Linked DNA regions of Homo sapiens: all the other regions are linked to region 5. Evidence: promoter capture Hi-C in human tissues and cell types (Jung and others, 2019). All regions are on one chromosome and are shown on one strand. Each heading gives the region's core, a stretch centred on a gene start or on the middle of the fragment in contact. The rest is flanking DNA. Distances are from core to core; before and after follow the strand shown. Region 1 has its middle 130 kb from the start of SPOPL-DT. Region 2 has its middle 150 kb from the start of SPOPL-DT. Region 3 has its middle 170 kb from the start of LINC01832. Region 4 has its middle 170 kb from the start of SPOPL-DT. Region 5 holds the start of HNMT (histamine N-methyltransferase). Region 6 has its middle 140 kb from the start of LINC01832.

The links. Contacts are between HindIII fragments. The study calls those that stand out against the background at their distance.
Region 1: a fragment that was not itself captured here is called in contact with the fragment with the promoter of HNMT in region 5 in 2 of the 25 tissues and cell types used here (dorsolateral prefrontal cortex and hippocampus).
Region 2: a fragment that was not itself captured here is called in contact with the fragment with the promoter of HNMT in region 5 in 1 of the 25 tissues and cell types used here (spleen).
Region 3: a contact is called between a fragment that was not itself captured here and the fragment with the promoter of HNMT in region 5, in 1 of the 25 tissues and cell types used here (mesendoderm cells).
Region 4: a fragment that was not itself captured here is called in contact with the fragment with the promoter of HNMT in region 5 in 2 of the 25 tissues and cell types used here (dorsolateral prefrontal cortex and heart left ventricle).
Region 6: a contact is called between a fragment that was not itself captured here and the fragment with the promoter of HNMT in region 5, in 1 of the 25 tissues and cell types used here (thymus).

The regions. Positions count from the first base shown.
Region 1 is chr2:138,374,026-138,376,886 of GRCh38, reverse strand. No RefSeq gene overlaps it. Among named protein-coding and RNA genes, the nearest start is that of SPOPL-DT, 130 kb to the left of the region's middle. The HindIII fragment of the contact is 7,053 bases long and covers 1-2,861 here.
Region 2 is chr2:138,353,629-138,356,546 of GRCh38, reverse strand. No RefSeq gene overlaps it. Among named protein-coding and RNA genes, the nearest start is that of SPOPL-DT, 150 kb to the left of the region's middle. The HindIII fragment of the contact is 9,390 bases long and covers 1-2,918 here.
Region 3 is chr2:138,267,956-138,270,877 of GRCh38, reverse strand. No RefSeq gene overlaps it. Among named protein-coding and RNA genes, the nearest start is that of LINC01832, 170 kb to the right of the region's middle. The HindIII fragment of the contact is 9,692 bases long and covers 1-2,922 here.
Region 4 is chr2:138,329,183-138,332,296 of GRCh38, reverse strand. No RefSeq gene overlaps it. Among named protein-coding and RNA genes, the nearest start is that of SPOPL-DT, 170 kb to the left of the region's middle. The HindIII fragment of the contact is 3,271 bases long and covers 200-3,114 here.
Region 5 is chr2:137,963,101-137,966,032 of GRCh38, reverse strand. It overlaps HNMT (histamine N-methyltransferase), which reads right to left and starts at 1,560. Exons shown (of 6, transcript NM_006895.3): 1 at 1,405-1,560. The coding sequence starts at 1,541. The HindIII fragment of the contact is 6,466 bases long and covers 1-2,932 here.
Region 6 is chr2:138,241,621-138,244,562 of GRCh38, reverse strand. No RefSeq gene overlaps it. Among named protein-coding and RNA genes, the nearest start is that of LINC01832, 140 kb to the right of the region's middle. The HindIII fragment of the contact is 6,611 bases long and covers 1-2,942 here.

The DNA of each region.
Region 1 (2,861 bases), core at 159-2,658, 410 kb before region 5:
TATGTTGGTGGTATGGTTGTGGGGTGGTAGCAGAAGGGGAAGGAGGGCATTCTCTGATGTCCTGGTATAGGAGAGAGTTTCTTGGCCTTCCCCAGTGGTGACAGCTCACTTCTAATGGCATGAATATAAGATCCTGAGGCTGGGCCCAAGACTGTTTCCTGGCCCTCCTCCAGGGATAGATAATTTTTCTTTTTTATTCCGTCATCAACAATAGGTTTTTAACCTGTGCCTGGGAGTGACAAGGTTTTCTGCCTCTGTTACAGAGGCTCAAGGCTTTTGTTCTTTCTGAGAGGATGATCTGGGCAGGGTGGCTGGGGTTCATGCTTTCCCCATAGTGGCTGCTCTTCCCCTTCTCCTGGCCTGTATCATCTAAGAGGGACTCTCCCCAGTTACCCACTGTGCCCCCATCTTTTTTATGAGTACCTCATGGAGGTGCCTGGAGATGAGCCTGGGGGTAAGCAGCAGCTCCTCCCATGTCTGGGGCTGCCAGGGATTCTACACTGTCACAGCAGGCCACACTCAACCTCCACCAATCCTTTAAGGTTCAGCTGGTTCCTTCTCAGCCAACTGTATGGCAACCAGTGCCTTTTTCTCCCATGCTTTGCCCTCTCTGAGCCAATCCACTGGTGCTTGATTTAATTCAATTTCCTTCAAATATAAAATAAAATTAAAAGCAATTCAACATGGCATTTTTTTTTTTTTGTGATGACAATTCCTGTGGATTCTATTTTGGGGAAACAATGGAAGGAAACATGATGGTGGAGGATCAAAGACTGAATCCCATAAGACGTGGTTCTCAAATGAGCCTCCCCTAGAATACTGGGGTATTGCTAAAAAATTTAACCACGTTGGTATCTTCTCAAAAGCTCAGAAAATATTAAGTTTATGAGTGGAATTTTCTGAATGTGAAGTTTTTGCCTCATAATTTGCTATTATTTTAATAGTTTGGTAACTGCTGCTGATTGTTTACTCGGTGTATGCAGCTAGATAAGCAGTGAGCACAAAAATGGCAATCTGGACAGCTAATGAAGCCCTTTCACCACCTCATAAGGTAATTGGGTTCATTGTAGATAGTTTTAACTTTGTAAAATATCCTTTTCTGAAAATTTCTGTGTATTCTGAGAATGTGGAGATCTGTATCATTTTAGAGATGTTAAAGAAATTTAGCATTTCCTACAGAAACTCAGGAGTTTGTGGATAAATCCTACAAAGCAAAGTGGATGATGTGGCCCAAAATTAAGATCAGTAAGAGGTCTTTGATTTCAGTCTCATGTTGTTTCTGTTACCAAGTAAATTTTTACTGTCATGGCTCATGATATTTCAAGTCATTTGAAAAGCCAAGATTTCAGCAAAGTCTGTTTGAAGACCTAAAGAGAAAACATGTTGAGCCTAAATACAAAGCTTGTACCCAATGGTTAGGGGAGGGTTCAAAAGATTTTAATTCATGCCAATTTTTATCGTGTAAAAGGAGATGGGGAGACTTCCAGGACTGATTTGAAAAGAGTTGAAACATAATCTGAAGAATTTTTAGCTTTTGTTAAATTTAATAAGTGAATAATAATTTTGCAAGGCATAAGGTGTCCATGTTTATTAGAGCTGAAGACATTCTGGGACCTAAGATCCTCCTTCAAATCTAGAGTCTATGTATATATTACTTTTATATTTAAACATATGCAATACAAATATACCTTGGTTGGTACTCATATATATATATATATATATTTTTTGTAATATTCACCACTAAAAATTTTGTTTCTAGTCGATAAAATAGACTTCGGTATGTCAATATTTCATGGTACTCCACATTGTGTGCGATTTCCATGCAACTTATCACCTGTGTTTGAGTTGGCTTCTGTGAGTTTTCACATGATTTACCTTGGATATTGGGGTGTCATCCTGAATTTTGGGCTGGAAAGTGACTGTGGCTTAATTTCCTTATCTATAAAATGGGAATGATAATCATGCCTCCTTTATAGGGCTGTTACGAGAATTAAAGAAGGCATTGCTTATAAACTCCTTGTTACAGTGTCTAGCCATAGTAAGCATTCATTAGAGTTTAGCTATCATTAATATCTGAAGTGGTCATGGGATTATTTTGCTGGTCCTGTAGAAGAGCTATACATCCTTGGTGACATTCCTCTCTTTCAAATGGAGGGAACAACGGTGAAATATTATTGGCCTATTAACTGTAAGCATTTATTTTTGTGGATCAATTGGCATAATACTCATTAATCTATGTCACAACTGTAAAATACTCTACACACATAATATGTTGGAGTTGCAAAGTTAACAACTACTCACACCTAGAAAAAATTATCATTGTTATTTTATACACCTATTATTTTAATACCAGCTGTCAAGTTTTATTTTATGCTTTTTACTGTTTTATTCTTCTTGGTTTATTTATTTTTTATTTATTGAAATGTTTAGGGTACAAGTACAATTTTGTTACATACATAAATTGTATAATAATCAAATCAGGGCTTTTAGAATATAGATTTATTTTCAATAAAAAGCTTTTCTAACCTTGAATTTAAGATACCACTTTCTATAATTTCTTTCATGTCTGACAAGCATAGGTGTTAGTGTGGTATTTTAGTGTAGTTCAGGTTATATAGTCAATTCAGTAAAGCATCTCAGAGTTCTAAAATCATCCTTTGGGTGGCAAGCCTTGGCCAGAATGTCAGTCTAATTCTGCAATGGTTTTCCAGTTATCTTTTTTCTCTTCAGAGCCAGCAGAGGGAGCACCAGTCTCTCCCTATCTAAACAATCATAATGGCTTTTAAACATATGGTGGGCCTTTCATAATTAAATTTTTAAAAAGAGATGGAGTTTAAATGAAGATATAAAACTCAAAGTAT
Region 2 (2,918 bases), core at 52-2,551, 390 kb before region 5:
TTGCCTCTCACCTGTGGAGTTCCTGACTTCAGTGCAGGGGATCCAGATGCTCTTTTATAAAACCGTGTGTGTGGAGCAGATTGATTCACATGGAGTTTCCAGGTTTTATTGAGGTTTCACCACGAGCCTGACATTTTTCCTGGAGCTAATCCACATCATGATTTCACAATACAGGACTGAATGCAGAGGCTGTGTTGGACTATTTTTTTCCTCCTTGTCATTTAAGGTCAGGATCGGGCACAGCATGTTGAAATATATATTGTTCACAGCCTTTTTCTGTTCACTGAACTTTCCAATTAGTGTTCACTTAAATGGATGCCGGGGAGAATTTCTTACAAGTTATGGTGTCATGTTGAATTGTGGTGATTATGAAAGCTACAGTGACAGGAAAGACCTAAGATATTTTTTTTTCTGTTCTCTCATTGCTTGGCAAAAACTGGCTGTGAAAAATAATCCTTAAGTTAAGAATTCCCTGATATAAAAGAACATTAAACCATTGTTTTGGTCATTTTGTTGTTAAAAGTTCTTCTGATTTAAATGTTCCATTTCCTTGAGTTTTGTTTTTAAAATTATAGTTGTATATGGTGCCCTTGGGGTAATGTTATATTGATTATCAAATGTCTCTGGTACATTTCTGCTCTTGGTCTATTTAAGCATAGAACAAAATAGTGTGGGTTTTCTATCTTTCATTCTAAATGTCACTTGCTGTGAGCTATTTTCTTGCACTCAGTTGCCTTCCTTTCCTTTTGTTTATCTTATTTTGCATATACTTTCAATTTTTACAAAATTGTTTATAACATGGGATTATACTGTGTTCTGCGGGTGAATTTGAACATTAGGGCTGATATTTTATTTTGTGACAGAAAGACTAGGGTAGGTATTTTTTTTCCCTTTTATTCTCCTTCAAAAAAAAATGCCCCAGTCAATGAATAATTTAAGTCCTTGAATTCTGAAGAACATATTTGAGTATTTCATGGTACAGGCATCTTTATTTTATGTTTCTTTCCCAGAGGCAGGAGAAGTACCAGGTATTATAATATGAACTCAATCAATCATGTCCTTTCCTGGGGCTGTGTGGTGATGAGAGTCTCACCTCTATGAGGATTTAATTCATGGACAGGGAGAGAATTCAAGGAAGGCCGCTATCATCCTTATTCAATCTCTATTGCTTTTTACTGGTGAGTCTAGCAGCACAGGCTTGTAGTTTCCTTATGCTGAAACTGAAAGCGTAGGTTTTCCTATGAAAATACAGTTGTCTCTGGACACTGGACCAAGGATCACTAATTCATGGTCAGGGGGTTGCAAGGGGTTGTCTGTCTAGTTCCTGCCCAGCACTATTACAGCTTTGTGATAGGGGTGAGAGTAAGGGAGTGTTTCTAATTGTATTTTGGTTCTTGTCTCCAGATCAGTTTTATCAAGATTGATTGTGGCATTTCTGGCTATCTCAATGAAAAAGAGCATGTGAAAATTAAAGAAAAGTGATGAATTTGCTCATCAGCAATTCAGAATGCAAAGGTAGCAGAGGATAATTTATACTGAATTGCAACCCCTCTCTAGGTTCAAGGCCATTTCAGGATGTGGCAGGTAGTTAGTATAGCTAGCTCGCCTTTTAGAAATAGATTGGGCTTCTTTGTAAGTTGGTTGTTTGGATTGCAGGAGGATAATAATCTATAGAAACATTAAAAATATATGGTATGTGTATTATAATTCCTAGGCTAGCCCAAAAACACCCATTTAACTCACAATGCAACTGGAGGGTGGTACAATAGTACTAATAAAACAATAACCATTTAGATTTGGAAATGTGTTTGGAATTTCAGTTACCTCCATTGTGGCCCTGGTTTTAGGATTCAGTATTTTTTTTTTCTTCGTCTCTACCAACTCCACCACTTCCCCAGCTGGCCACATAGACCATTTACTTCTTCATCACATAGTTTGAAACTCCTACACTTTGGTCTGTGCTCTGGTTTTTCTCAATTCTTTTCAGAAGTCCAATGTGCCATCTTTCTTCCAAGTTTAGGCCCTCACTTTTATCAGCTCCTCCACCTGAAATGCTTCTCCAGCTATTCATCTCTTGGCTAACTCCTATTTGTTCTTCAGTGTGGGTGTCATCTCTCTGTAAAACCTTCTGTGGTTCCTCCTTTTCATACTTCAAGACTGTCTTGGAGACTAGAACTAAAGTACAATTAGAAACCATCTTCAAACTGCCCAGAACCTCCAAGAGTATAGTTAGCCCAAGGAAGGGAGAGTGGTTAGTCAAGCTTCATACTCATGTAGGGAGACACCTGCCGTTCCCACAGGTCCTTGCTGGCACTTGTTTCTGATGAGCAACAGGCCCTGTAGAGCTATCAGAAGATGCTCTTCCACGCTCTTGATGTTGATGACAAGATTCCACCAAGGACTTCATGCATCTTTGGACTGAACTTAGCCAGATCAGTGCTAAGTTCAGTCACAGCTCTCTCACTCTTGGCTCCCAGGGGTTCAGATCCTAGTGCTCAGTCTTTCCATTTGCATGTATAGCTTCCTCCCAGGGAAATAGGAGGCCCCACAACACTAAGTCATGATTGTTTCTGTCCTACACTTCACAGATCCAGACCACTCTCTTCCTTCTCTCACTGGGGATTCACATCTAGTGGTTAAAGAGTATGTATGTTAGCTTCCCAGGGCTACCATAATAAAACAGAAAAAAATTGGTGTCTTAGAACAATAGAAATTCATTGTTTCACAGTTTTGGAGGTTAGACATCACATCTGAAATTAAAGTGTCAGCAGAGCCATGTTCCCTTCACAGGCTCTAGGAAAGAATTCTTTCTTGCCTCTTCTAGGCTTTGGTGGTTGTTAGCTATTTTCGGTGTTCCTTGGCTTGCAGATGCATTATTCCAATCTCTACCCTGTCTTCACATGGCCTTTTCCCTGTGT
Region 3 (2,922 bases), core at 360-2,859, 300 kb before region 5:
AAGTACATGCCAGAAGATATTTCTGCTTTAGTTAGAAGCTGTACTAGATAATCACTGATGTGATTATATAATTTCATTCTAACGTAAGTCATCTCATTTAATTCTAAGATTCTATTATTAAATAATCTGGATTTTCTAGGTTTTCATTATCTATTGAACTCTCAATATTATTGTTTTGCTATTCACTTGAGTTTACCTACAATGTAAACCATGCTGTAGCAAAACAAGTCTTAACTGGTTGCTATGATCCATATTTATAAAGAATAGAGACTGATTCCATAATATAGAAAATGATTATGGCAGCTTCAGTCTGTACGATGACTGTAGTCTATCAAAGTTGTCATATATAATCAGAGAAACAGCTTTAAGGAAACTACTTAGAAATAAAATTATTTTGTATAATGGAGTCTGGTGCTGGTAAACACGATTTGACCAACAATGGGGCAATTTAAAAAGTGTAAGTGAAATAGATTGCCAATTAGATATAGCACTTTATAAATGTGGATAATTGATCCGGAGAAACCAATAAATATCTGAAGAGCTCAATAATCACTTTAAAAAGTAATCAAGCCGTGTAATTCCTTCTGTAATTCCATCTGTAATTCAGATCATGAAGAAAATTATCTGAATCAAGAGAAAGAACACAGATATTTCAATACATCTTTTATATTACTTAATTAAGTTGGTTACCATATTGCTATAAATATACCACTTTCTACAGCTTGCTGATTATCATCATTTTGAAATGTAATCCAAGGTTAAGTAAGAGAAGGATGAGTAACATAGTTTTTTTTTTTCTTTTTGACAAAACACAATTTAAGAAAATAATTGCAAATAAGATGGAAAAGTTAAACTTATTTGATGTTCTGAATTAGAAGTATGGAAAGAGATGATGTAAGCCTGGATGGTCTTTTGTTAGTAACCTTCATTACTTGATAAATCAATCCATAATCCAAACCACAATGACATTCCTTCTGGAAAGAATGCTACACCAGTGGAAACTAATTAAAATGAAAACCCTGTCTATGAAAGTAGGAATTTATACGGAATATTTAACAAAGTGTCAAGTAGTGCTAATGAGCTGTTTTAGGGCTAATTCTGGTAACTACAGAGTGAAGTAAGGCCACATTTTCAATCCAAATGATTCACAAAGTTTACTTAGAATTCAACTTGCAAAAACTCTCATTGAATTTTTGTCTCCTCTCGTTTACCTTATCTAAACTAACTTACCTCATTCTTTTCCCACCTTGAGTTCATATCTGTATGTTACTACTACCTTGGAGAGAACAGAATATCAAAATAGGAGTCCTGCTAGAATCCATAGGGACTTCTTAGAAGACCATTAAGAGATGTTGTATGCAACATTTACCTTAAAATCCGATCTAATCAAGACTTCTTAGGGTCTTTAAAGTTCAATCTGAAAAGAGAAAAAAATCAGTTTAGAGTCAATAATACATGAATAGTGTTATTATCAGCCTTTTAATCTTTTAACAAATAGTATTTTGTAATTTATAGAAAGATAACAATCAATGATCATATAAAAAGAGCAGATGGCATTTAACAGCTAAAAGGTGACAAAATTAGATGCGCATAAAATTAGGAAAATAAATTATCATAAACATTTACAGCCATGTCCTCCAAAATTTGTACTAATTAATTTTTTAAAACTTGTGAATTTGACTAAGTATTTAATGAAGAATTAATACCAGTCCTTCACTAACAATTCAATCCTTCATTATCAAGAGAGAATACTTCCCAGTTTATTCCATGAGGCCAGTATTAGCATGATACAAAATCCAGACAAAAGTATCTTAAGAAATTAAGACGACAGACCAGTTATCTCCTGATGAGTGCAGACACAGACATTCTCTAAAAACACTAGAAAACTGAATAAAGTAATATATAAAATGAATCACATACCTCAACCTTGTGAAATTATTTTGCAAATGCAGTGATGGTTTAACATCTAAGAATAAATCATTGTAAAATATCATATTAATAGAAAAAGACAAAAATAATGCTCATCTTGATAAACACAGAAAAGCATTTGACATAATCCAACATTTAATCATGATTTAAAAAATAAACCAGCAAAATACAAATAGAAAAACACTTTCTTGCACTAAGACAACGTATCCATTACATACTGAAAGCTTATACTCAATGAAGAAATACCCCTGGGAAGTAGGACCTATCATTTCTAAATTCTACAAATTTTAATTTAGGAACTAAGTGGGTCTTAAAATGCTACTTGGTTCTGTTGATCAGGTCTCCTAAAGAAGGAGCGTAAAACCGGGCTGGTTTTCTTGGCCATGACTAGAGTGTGGTATTTTCAAAAAATATAAAGATTTAATATTTACAATGTCAGAGGAGGAAAAATACATGCTCATCTGAAAAGATGCAAAAAAAAGGTATTTTCTAAAATTCAGTATTTTATGTTGATTCAAGACTCACAAAAACTGGTAGCATTTGCATAATTCTGTAACATTATTTATCAGATAGATCTCAAAGAGAGAAGAACCTCAGCCTGTGCTGGCATACTCCTGTCTCAGTGCCATTAGGAAAAAGACAAAGAAGCCACCGTCCCCACTAATATTTATGACTGATCAGAAAAAATAAGCAAAACCTTTAGACAAAATTGGGAAATACAGAAACAAAGGCCAAGTAGCATTTTCAGATGATCTGATTGCCTGACTGAGAAACCATGGGAACAGAAAGCAGAAATAATATTGGCAACTAAATATAACATCACTCCAAGAAGTTCAAAAGACTGCACCAATTAAGCCATGTGTGGGAGAGGCATGGAATCACTAAACTGTGAAAAGGGGAATTAGAGACTTGAGCAGAGGGACCTGCTCATCCCTAGAGAAAATCTCAATATTGCAATGAAGTTATATTTTCACCCAACTTATTTTACACATT
Region 4 (3,114 bases), core at 586-3,085, 370 kb before region 5:
AAACTAGTACAATCACTATGGAAAACAGTAGATATTCCTTAAAGAACTAAAAGTAGAACTACCATTTAATCTAGCAATTTCACGACTGGGTTTCTACCCAGAAGAAAAGAAGTCATTATACAAAACATATACTTGAACATGCATGTTTATAGCAGCACAATTCGCAACTGCAAAAATGTGGAATCAACCCAAATGCCCATCAACCAACGAGTGGATAAAGAAACTGTGATAAATATGAATGATGGAATACTACTCGGCCATAAAAATGAATGAATTAATTGCATTCACAGTGACCTGGATGAAATTGGAGAGTGTTATTCTAAGTGAAGTAACTCAGGAATGGAAAACCAAACATCATATGTTCTCACTCATAAGTGGGAGCTAAGCTATGAGAATGCAAAGGCCTAAGAATGACACAATGGACTTTGGGAACTTAGGGGTAAAGGGTGGGAAGGGGGCCAGGGATAAAAGACTACAAATTGTGTGCAGTGTATACTGCTCAGGTGGTGGGTACACCAAAATCTCATGAATCTCATGAATACTAAATAACTTATGTAACCAAACACCACCTGTTTCCCAATAAACTATGAAAATAAAAAAAATTAATTGAAAAATAAAAAATAAAACAAGTTCTAAGAGGCTTTAAAAAAGAAAGAAAAGAAACAGGTTTCCACCCCCTACATGAGTTTCTATCTCTTACAGGTGGATATTACTATAATTAGAGGAATCCCAATGCAACTGGCCAATAAGCACATGGAAAGGTGCTCAACATCATTAGTCATTAGAGAAATCCAAATTAAAACCATGATGAGATGCCTCTTCACACCACTAAAATGGCTAAAATTGGAAAGACTGGCAATGGCAGGTGTTGGTGAGGAAATGGAGCCACTGGAACCCTTGTGCTCTTTTAATAATAGTGAAAAGTGATGCTGCTCCTGAAGCCGATGGCTTGGCATTGTTGCAAAATTAAATAAGCACTTACAATGCAATCCATTATTTCCACTCCTAGCTATTTATGCAAAAGAAATAAAAATATATTTCTACAGAAAGACATGTAAAAAAAAAAGAGCATTCATTATTGCCTTGTGTAAACATGAGCTTTGACCTGAAAAGGCTGTCCTAAGGTTTGCTTTCAGAGAAGCTTCCCTGGCACCTCTTCTAAGTCATATTTAATGTTACCTAGCAGACCAAGACCTCCAGTTTCCTTAAAGACTCTGCACCACCCTCTTAATGCTCCTATGGATGGTCCCACAAATACTTCCCTGCAAGCCCTCCACCCTGACTTGGGGCATCTGCCAGTATTCCTTTCTAATCGGCTTGGATTCCTACATGGTCTTCCTCTCGGCATGTAACATCTTACTGCCAGTGTTGTCCTGATATTGTGTTACTTCCTCCTGATGACTCTGAGAGATTTTACAAGTTCTGTGATCGCACAGAGATTTTGGATGAAACTGGACACTGTATTGTCCCCTAATTCTCTTTTCTATATGCACTAAATTTTCACACTCCCTGCTTTCCTCCCTCTCTTGCTAGCCATTCCCATTCACATTATAGCTCTTAGCCAGACCTTTGGGACCAAGGTTCCTGATTCACTCTGAAGCTTTCATCACCCAAACTTACCCTATCAGAATGAGGCTGGTCTCATACCTTCCCAGGCCTGTGATAAAGATCAGTAGGGATTGATCTATTTGTGTGCCCATTGTAGAATATACATGAAAGCTCATGCACATACACACACGACCATACACACGTGTGCTCACACACACAATGTGAATAGGTTTAACTGAAAGCTTTATACTGCCGGCATCAGAATCTATTATGTTATTCTTTAAGCAAGTCAGGAGATGGATTCAATGTCAGATTTGCTTATTACTATTCAGATAAACAGATAAATCTTCTTGCAACTAGCCATCTTCAATCTCAGGGTTTTCTTAAATGTAATGAAGTTACTATTAGACGGCAAGCTGGAGGGTTTAGCTACAGGCAGAACAGGCAGAGGAATAACTGGTGAAGCTCAGAGCTTAGAAAACTGGATGCACAATGTTTCTCTGTTGGATAAAAGACAAAATAAAGAAATCTAAATTAAAATATGCTAGGGCTAGTTGCAAGAAACTAGTTCGGGCACCTCAAACAAAATGCTTTCCTGCAATTTTGGTAACATTCTCCCAAATGGCCCTTGTAAGGTTAGCGTAAGTCCAAGAGATAAACAGAGGGTTAAGATATCCAATGCTTATGAGAAAGAAAATTATAGTATCTTTAATAAAATCACTTAATCACAACTATTAAAAAACTAGATACATGTTAACCACTAATTACCTACATTTACATATTACAAAGGAATTTTTAAGTGAATACTACAAATTGGCTTAGATAAATACCTTCTTATTTATATAAGCTTGTCTTCAATTGCTACTTAAATGCTCCTCACTCTGGTTTTCTTCCCAGAGGTCAGAGGTCTTCTCTGTCATTCTTGAAGTGGGCAGCAATGCCACAGAGGTTTCTGCAAGAATGACCTGTGCTAACTGCTTGACCTTATTTGAAATCGCTGACTCTTTAGTCTCTTTTGTGCTTCTCATGCTCCTGACTGCTGGATTTCTTCCCAGTTTTTCTTCTTTGACCCTCCATTTGATTTTACAGACAGAACCATAAATCTCCTGTCTACTCTCATTCTTTTTTCTCTTTGCTTTATTTATGTATTTAAAAATGAATAGTCTTTATTTTTTTACATGACTCTTAGGCTTACAGAAAAACTGAGGAGAAAGTAGAGAGTTTCTACATTTCATCCCCCACCCCAATCTTCCCCACTAACAACTCGGGGCACCAGAGCGGTACATTTGTTACAATCAATGAACCAATATTGACGCATCATTATCAACCAGAGTACATAGTTTACATTAGGATTCACTCTTGGTGTTGTACATTATACCAGTCTGACAGCTATACAATGACATGAATCTGTCATTATAGTATCATACAGAGTAGTTTCACTGCTCTAAAACCCCTCTGTGCTACAGCTATTCATGTCTCCCCCTACCCAACCTCTGGAAACATTGATCTTTTTGCTGTCTCCATAGTTTTGCCTATACCAGAATGTCATATAGTTAGAATCATACA
Region 5 (2,932 bases), core at 311-2,810:
AAAATAAATGACACTGAATCTGATCATTCCTAACTATATACTACTGTTATAAGACAAACAGTGTGCCCTTAAAAATTCTTCAGTCTTTCACAGATTTTATAATATTTCCAGTTAGATTTAAACTTTGAAGATAAGGAAGGGGTCATTCATCATCGATTATGTTATCTCCATCCACGGTACCTCTTCAAACCAAACTGTGTATGGCTGAAGAAAACCAAGGATCTGGTAAGCTACAGACATGAGCAAATACTTTTAGTACTGAAAAAGAATTGAGAAATTAACTCATTACCTTTAACTTTAGAAATGAGCAAAGAAACCCAAAGAGGTTAACTATAATTAGTTCCTAGGTAAGAAGTTCTCTATATTTGCTATTTGCTTTGATGTTTGCATCCTTATCCTATTACATATTAATTTTTAATATATAATATCCTATTTTTTGAAAGCTAACATTTAAAATCTGAATCATGTTAAATAGAAAAGGAAATAAAATTTTATGTACATCTAATAATGCCTGCTCTGGTCAGACATAGGTACTGCCCTGGTGAAAGAATTTCAGGCCTGCAATAGAGAAATTCAGCAAAAGATAAAATACCACTTTCCTTTGCTGTTTGCAAATTGGATCCATAGTCATTTCTTCCCAGTTTTCCATTATTATTTCCTGAAGTAGAATGAGTTACAGCAAATCACCCCCAGATAGGTGATTTGATTATCTTTAGCATGTGGAATCTGTTACTCTCATAATGCTTATCAGCTCTGGCACAAATTGAACACATTAATCACCCAAAAAAAAGAACTCTGCAAGAAGGATAGGAACCAGTGAGTTTCACTGATAATGGGAAAATGGTTCTTTTTTTAAGGAACACATTGCTAATATTAAGCTGAAAGAAAAAGACAATTTTGAGGAAGAGAGTGATAACTATAACAATGGATAAGGAAAATTAATTTAAATGGATATTATGAGAACTGAGGCACTCAATCCTCAGGGCAAATCGTACTTTGGCAATTATTTATATTTGATTCTAATGAAAAGCATACCAGACTCCCTTTGGGACTTTTTTGGGATGTAAAATTTGGAGGAGGGCTGAAAAATCTGAGTTCGAAGATTAGCATCTTATCTTTTCCCAAATGAACATGGATTTGTGCCTTCAAATGGTTAACGCTTATCTCTATGCAGCTGGAAATACAACACAAATGGGAGCCTTTGAGTGTTCAAAGCAAACGTGGAACCAAAGCACTGCAGGAGAAAGGCAGGGCAGGGCAGCGAGGAGGGGACGACGGGGAGCTGCTATCAGTAATTCGCCCTTATCCCTGTGCCCAGCCTGCGAGGCTGAGCGAGACCCATCTATCACTGACGCACAGCCAGTCTGAGGCTTGTCCCTTTGACAACAACGTCCCTTTTGTTACCTTCCTATTATGCCTGGCAGCTTCTTGTCCATGAATTCCTGCATGCACTGGTGTTCCGTGGAATGGTTGAGAAACCTCCGGAAAGATTCAACATATTTCCCGTGGTCAGAAAACAAGCTCCTCATGGAAGATGCCATATTTGGTTTTCTGAGAAAGACAGAGCAGGAAGCAAGGTTTAAGTTCCCCTCCTTCTCTTCCCAGTTCCCTCTTTCTTTCCCCACCCCCACCAGTTTCTATCCAAAAAAAAAAAAAAAAATGCTAAGCTTGTTTTGAATTTAACATGCCACAAAGGCTGGCTTGTAGAGCTCATTACTGAGTCAATATTTGAACGGGACTTTGCACTGATACTTTAACCCCTATACGGTTGTTTTGTAAGAAATAGAAGTATTAAGCAAGGCTGTAAATCCACTGCTAAAACTTTTCAAATTCCTGAGGTTGAAAGGTCATAAAAACAAACTGTATTCAAATCACTTCCTGTTTTGTCAGCAAAGCCACAAGTAAGTTCCAAGTGGGAAAGTGACTGTTCGAAGTGGCAAACACCAGGATAAAGAGGACAGCTACACAGCACTCTCAGAAATCTACAGCAGTGAAATCTTTAACGGAAGACTGTCATCTGCCTCTGTGCTTTCTACGGGATTGTTTTGGGCCTTTACATTCCTCAGCACTTGAATTTTCAACTTATCTGCTGCATTTCTTCAAATGCTGATTTGTTGTAACTCAGAAATTATCTTAAAAGGAAGTCACGAAGGAGGAGCCCAAGAACTCGTAGCTAGAAGGTGTCAGAAGCTGCATTTAGGGGAATGAGAGTGGTAAGAGAAGTCTTGGAGCAAGAATGCAGGACACCAGGGTAAAAGTGCAGTCCATAGAATCCTTCCCTAAGCGCGCTGAACACGACGAGGTCATAGATACTTCGCTTGGCTGGATGAGCCTTTGGAAACCCAGTGGTGTCCCCACCAGAAGAGCCAAAGCTTCAGAGTACCCACACACAGTCTTTTTCCTGGGAAGAGGTCTTTAAGAAGGTCATCCTTTATCTAATATTGGGTTGTTAATAATAGCATCCAACTCATGGAGGAGTGCTGAGGATCAAATGAGTTAACTCATATAAGTCTCTTAGAAATATGTCTGCTTAAACCGTCCCTTCTTCTAATTGAGTTCCCAAGCTGCCCTCTAAGCATTCAAAACACTTCCCAACTCTCTTTTTTTTTTTGAGACAGAGTATCGCTCTGTCGCCCAGCCTGGAGTGCAATGGTGCGATCTCCACTCACTGCAACCTCCGCTTCCTGGACTCAAGTGATTCTCCTGTCTTAGCCTCCCGAATAACTGGGATTACAGGCACCCGCCACCACGCCTGGCTAATTTTTGTACTTTTAGTAGAGACAGGGTTTCACCATGTTGGCCAGGCTGATCTCGAACTCCTGATCTCAAGTGATCCACCCGCCTCGGCCTCCCAAAGTGCTGGGATTACAGGCGTGAGCCACCATTCCCAGCCCCCAACTCCCTTTTATAAGTATGTTTTGTTCTCACTATT
Region 6 (2,942 bases), core at 415-2,914, 280 kb before region 5:
ACCCAGAGGCTGACTTGGGACATGAGGACTATTTTTCACATTCCTATGATTTCATCCCCAAATGATCAGCAGCACCCATTCCCCAGCCCCCTGCCTACCACATTATCCATAAAAACCCTAGCCTCTGAGTTCTAAGGGAGGCTAATTTGAGTAATAAATAAATCCACTTTCCTAACCCTGTGTTAATTAAACACTTTCTCTACTGCAATACTGCCATGTTTCAGTATATTGATTTTATCCATGCATCAGGCAAGAAGAACCTGTTGGGTGATTACACAGTTACATTGAATTTCAGATTATGGTACAGAAAGAAGTATATTTAGTGTTTGTCTCTGGTTCCTACCACAGAGTTCCTAAAATTCTTGGATTTTCTTGAGTGATTGGAATGTTTTTTGTTATTCTAAAAAAGTCTCTTTTGATCACATTTTAGTTTGTCTAAAAATGTAATGGAGGTAGAGTCTCTAGCCTCAAGACGGGGCTGGTCACCAGGAAGATAAAGTGATTAGAAGGCTGAAACTTTGAATCCCACCCCTGGACCTCCTGGAAGTTGGGGGGAGAAGGATGATTAAATGCTATAAAAACTTTTGAGTTGCTGAGTTTTGGGGTTGGTGAACACATCCAGATGCTCTGAGGATTGCAAACCCGGAAAGTATGGAAGCTCTGTGCACCTCCCAGCTCGCCCAGTACCTTGCCCCATGCCTCTCTTTCATTTCGCTGTTCCTGAGATGTATCCTTTATAATAAGCTAGTAAAAGTAAGTATTAAATTAAGCTTAGCCTAAAGCTGCCTCCTTGCAAATTTTAAGTTTGGCCCAAAGGTTTCTCCATATGTCATGAACTGTAACCTAACTGATATGTAAACATTCTGTAACCTACTCCTGTGACAATCACTGAGCTTCAGCTAATCAAGAGTGGGTGACTGTTCAAACTAGGCTCAAATAAAGCATATACCAAGCTGTAACCAATCTAGCTGTTTCTGTAACTCACTTTTGTTTTCTGTATGTCACTTTCTTTTTTCTGTCCATAAATCCTCTCCTATCATGCAACAGCAGCAGAGTCTCTCTGAACCTATTCTTGGTCAAAGGCTGCTTGATTTGCAGATTTTTCTTTTCTCAGTTAAACATTGTGAAATTTAATTTGTCTAAGGTTTCTCTTTTAACATAAGTCAACTGTTTTCCTGAGTTCTTTCTTGCAAATTATTGAACCTGAGGAGGTGGCAATAGGAACCTCTAATTTATAGTCATTCAGTCAGAAGTACAGAAAACCTGGGACTTGCGGCTGGTTTCTGAAGTGGGGGCAGCCTTGTGGTCCTGAGACCTTATGCTGTCGTTATAGGAGTTAAAAAGAAATTATTTAGGCAGCTAGTGAGGGTAAGGAAAGTCCTTGGTAAGGTTTTCCTTTTAATGAAAAGCAGCCCCCAAATTATTTCCTTTTCTAATAAAGGGCAGCCTGTAAAATTGAGCTGCAGACCGATAAGCAAGCTGGGAGCTTGCACTGGTGAATGCGGCCGTTGTGCCAATGGGAAAAGGCTACCTGGGAGTAGGCATGTTCAAAATGGTGGCTCCATCTTCCCTTCTCTTTGCCAAGCCACGTGTACAGTAAGGCGCAGACGAGATGGCACCGGCCAAGTGGAAAGCCCATTTGGATAATAAGATCAGGATGGGTTGGTCACCCTTCTCCCAGTGCTATTTAAATGTCACACCTGATCCAACCAATCTGTGGGCCCTATGTAAATCAGACACCACCTCTTCAGGCCTGCCAATAAAATCTAGTGCAGTCCACTGCTGGATGGATTTTCTTTTGGGAAGCCCCTGTCTTGCAAGGGAGAGAGCTGTTCTCCTTTCTCTCTCTCTTTTTTTTTTTTTTTTTTGCCTATTAAACCTCCACTCCTAAACCCACTCCTCGTGTGCGTCTATGTCCTTAATCTTCTTGGTGTGAGATGACAAACCCCAGGTATCTACCTTAGACAATGATGCTGCCTCATTGTGGGGTCTGCACTAACTTTAGAGTCAGAATTTGTGCAACACTTTGTTGGTATCTGGAGGGCTGGAGAATTGGTTGATGTCAGATAAAATACCCCACAGATAAACAATAAATAATTTTTTGGTATAATTGTGTTCCAAATACTGCACGGGGCATACTTATATTTAAGAAAAATCATTTGTTGTTTACCTGAAATTCAAATGTAACTGGATATCCTACAGTTAATTTGGAAATCTTCCTTGGGCTAGAGCATGCTCTGTGCTTTAAGTTCTTCCACCTACCCACCCAAGGAAGTGGGATGCTGCCTACTTGATTTCAAATTTAAAAGAGGTGCTTCCATAGGCTAATGGAGAACTTGTTAGGTGAATGGCAGACACAATGGACTGTTCTGATATCTGCTCATGAAATCTAGAGGGCAAGGAAGGCTAGCAAGCTGCTTTGGAAGCAAAGATGTTATCGTTTTAAAATCTGTCTCCACTCTCAGGACTTACCAAGGTAGAGGATGCGTCAATCTATAAACCTGACTGGGGGCAAACAGGAGAAACAAACAAGACGAGAGCCATTTTGATTTTTATCCAAGAGGGTCACATGGGGGGCCAATGGGACTCCAATTAGTGAGTCGTAGGGGAGCAGATCACCTGAAAATCTGCACTAAAGAGGAGCAAAACCAGGGTGAGAGAATGTACTGCCCAGTGCCTGAAAGTCTCAGTCAGAGGAGATAGCACAGGTCCCTCCAAGAAATGGGAATGCCCATAAAACAAGGAAGCATTTTCAAGCATCCACCTGGCTCAGAGTGTGAAGGTAAGATACAGTATATTACTCAAATAAGAAAGTATGTTTCTTTTTCTCTTCTTCCCTCTCTCCTTCTTGGTGCTTCAACCTCTGAAGGCTCCACAAGAGCAGCTGAAGAATAAGATAAGTGAGAAAGAAGGAAGCGTCCACACAGTTTTTCCCATTGACA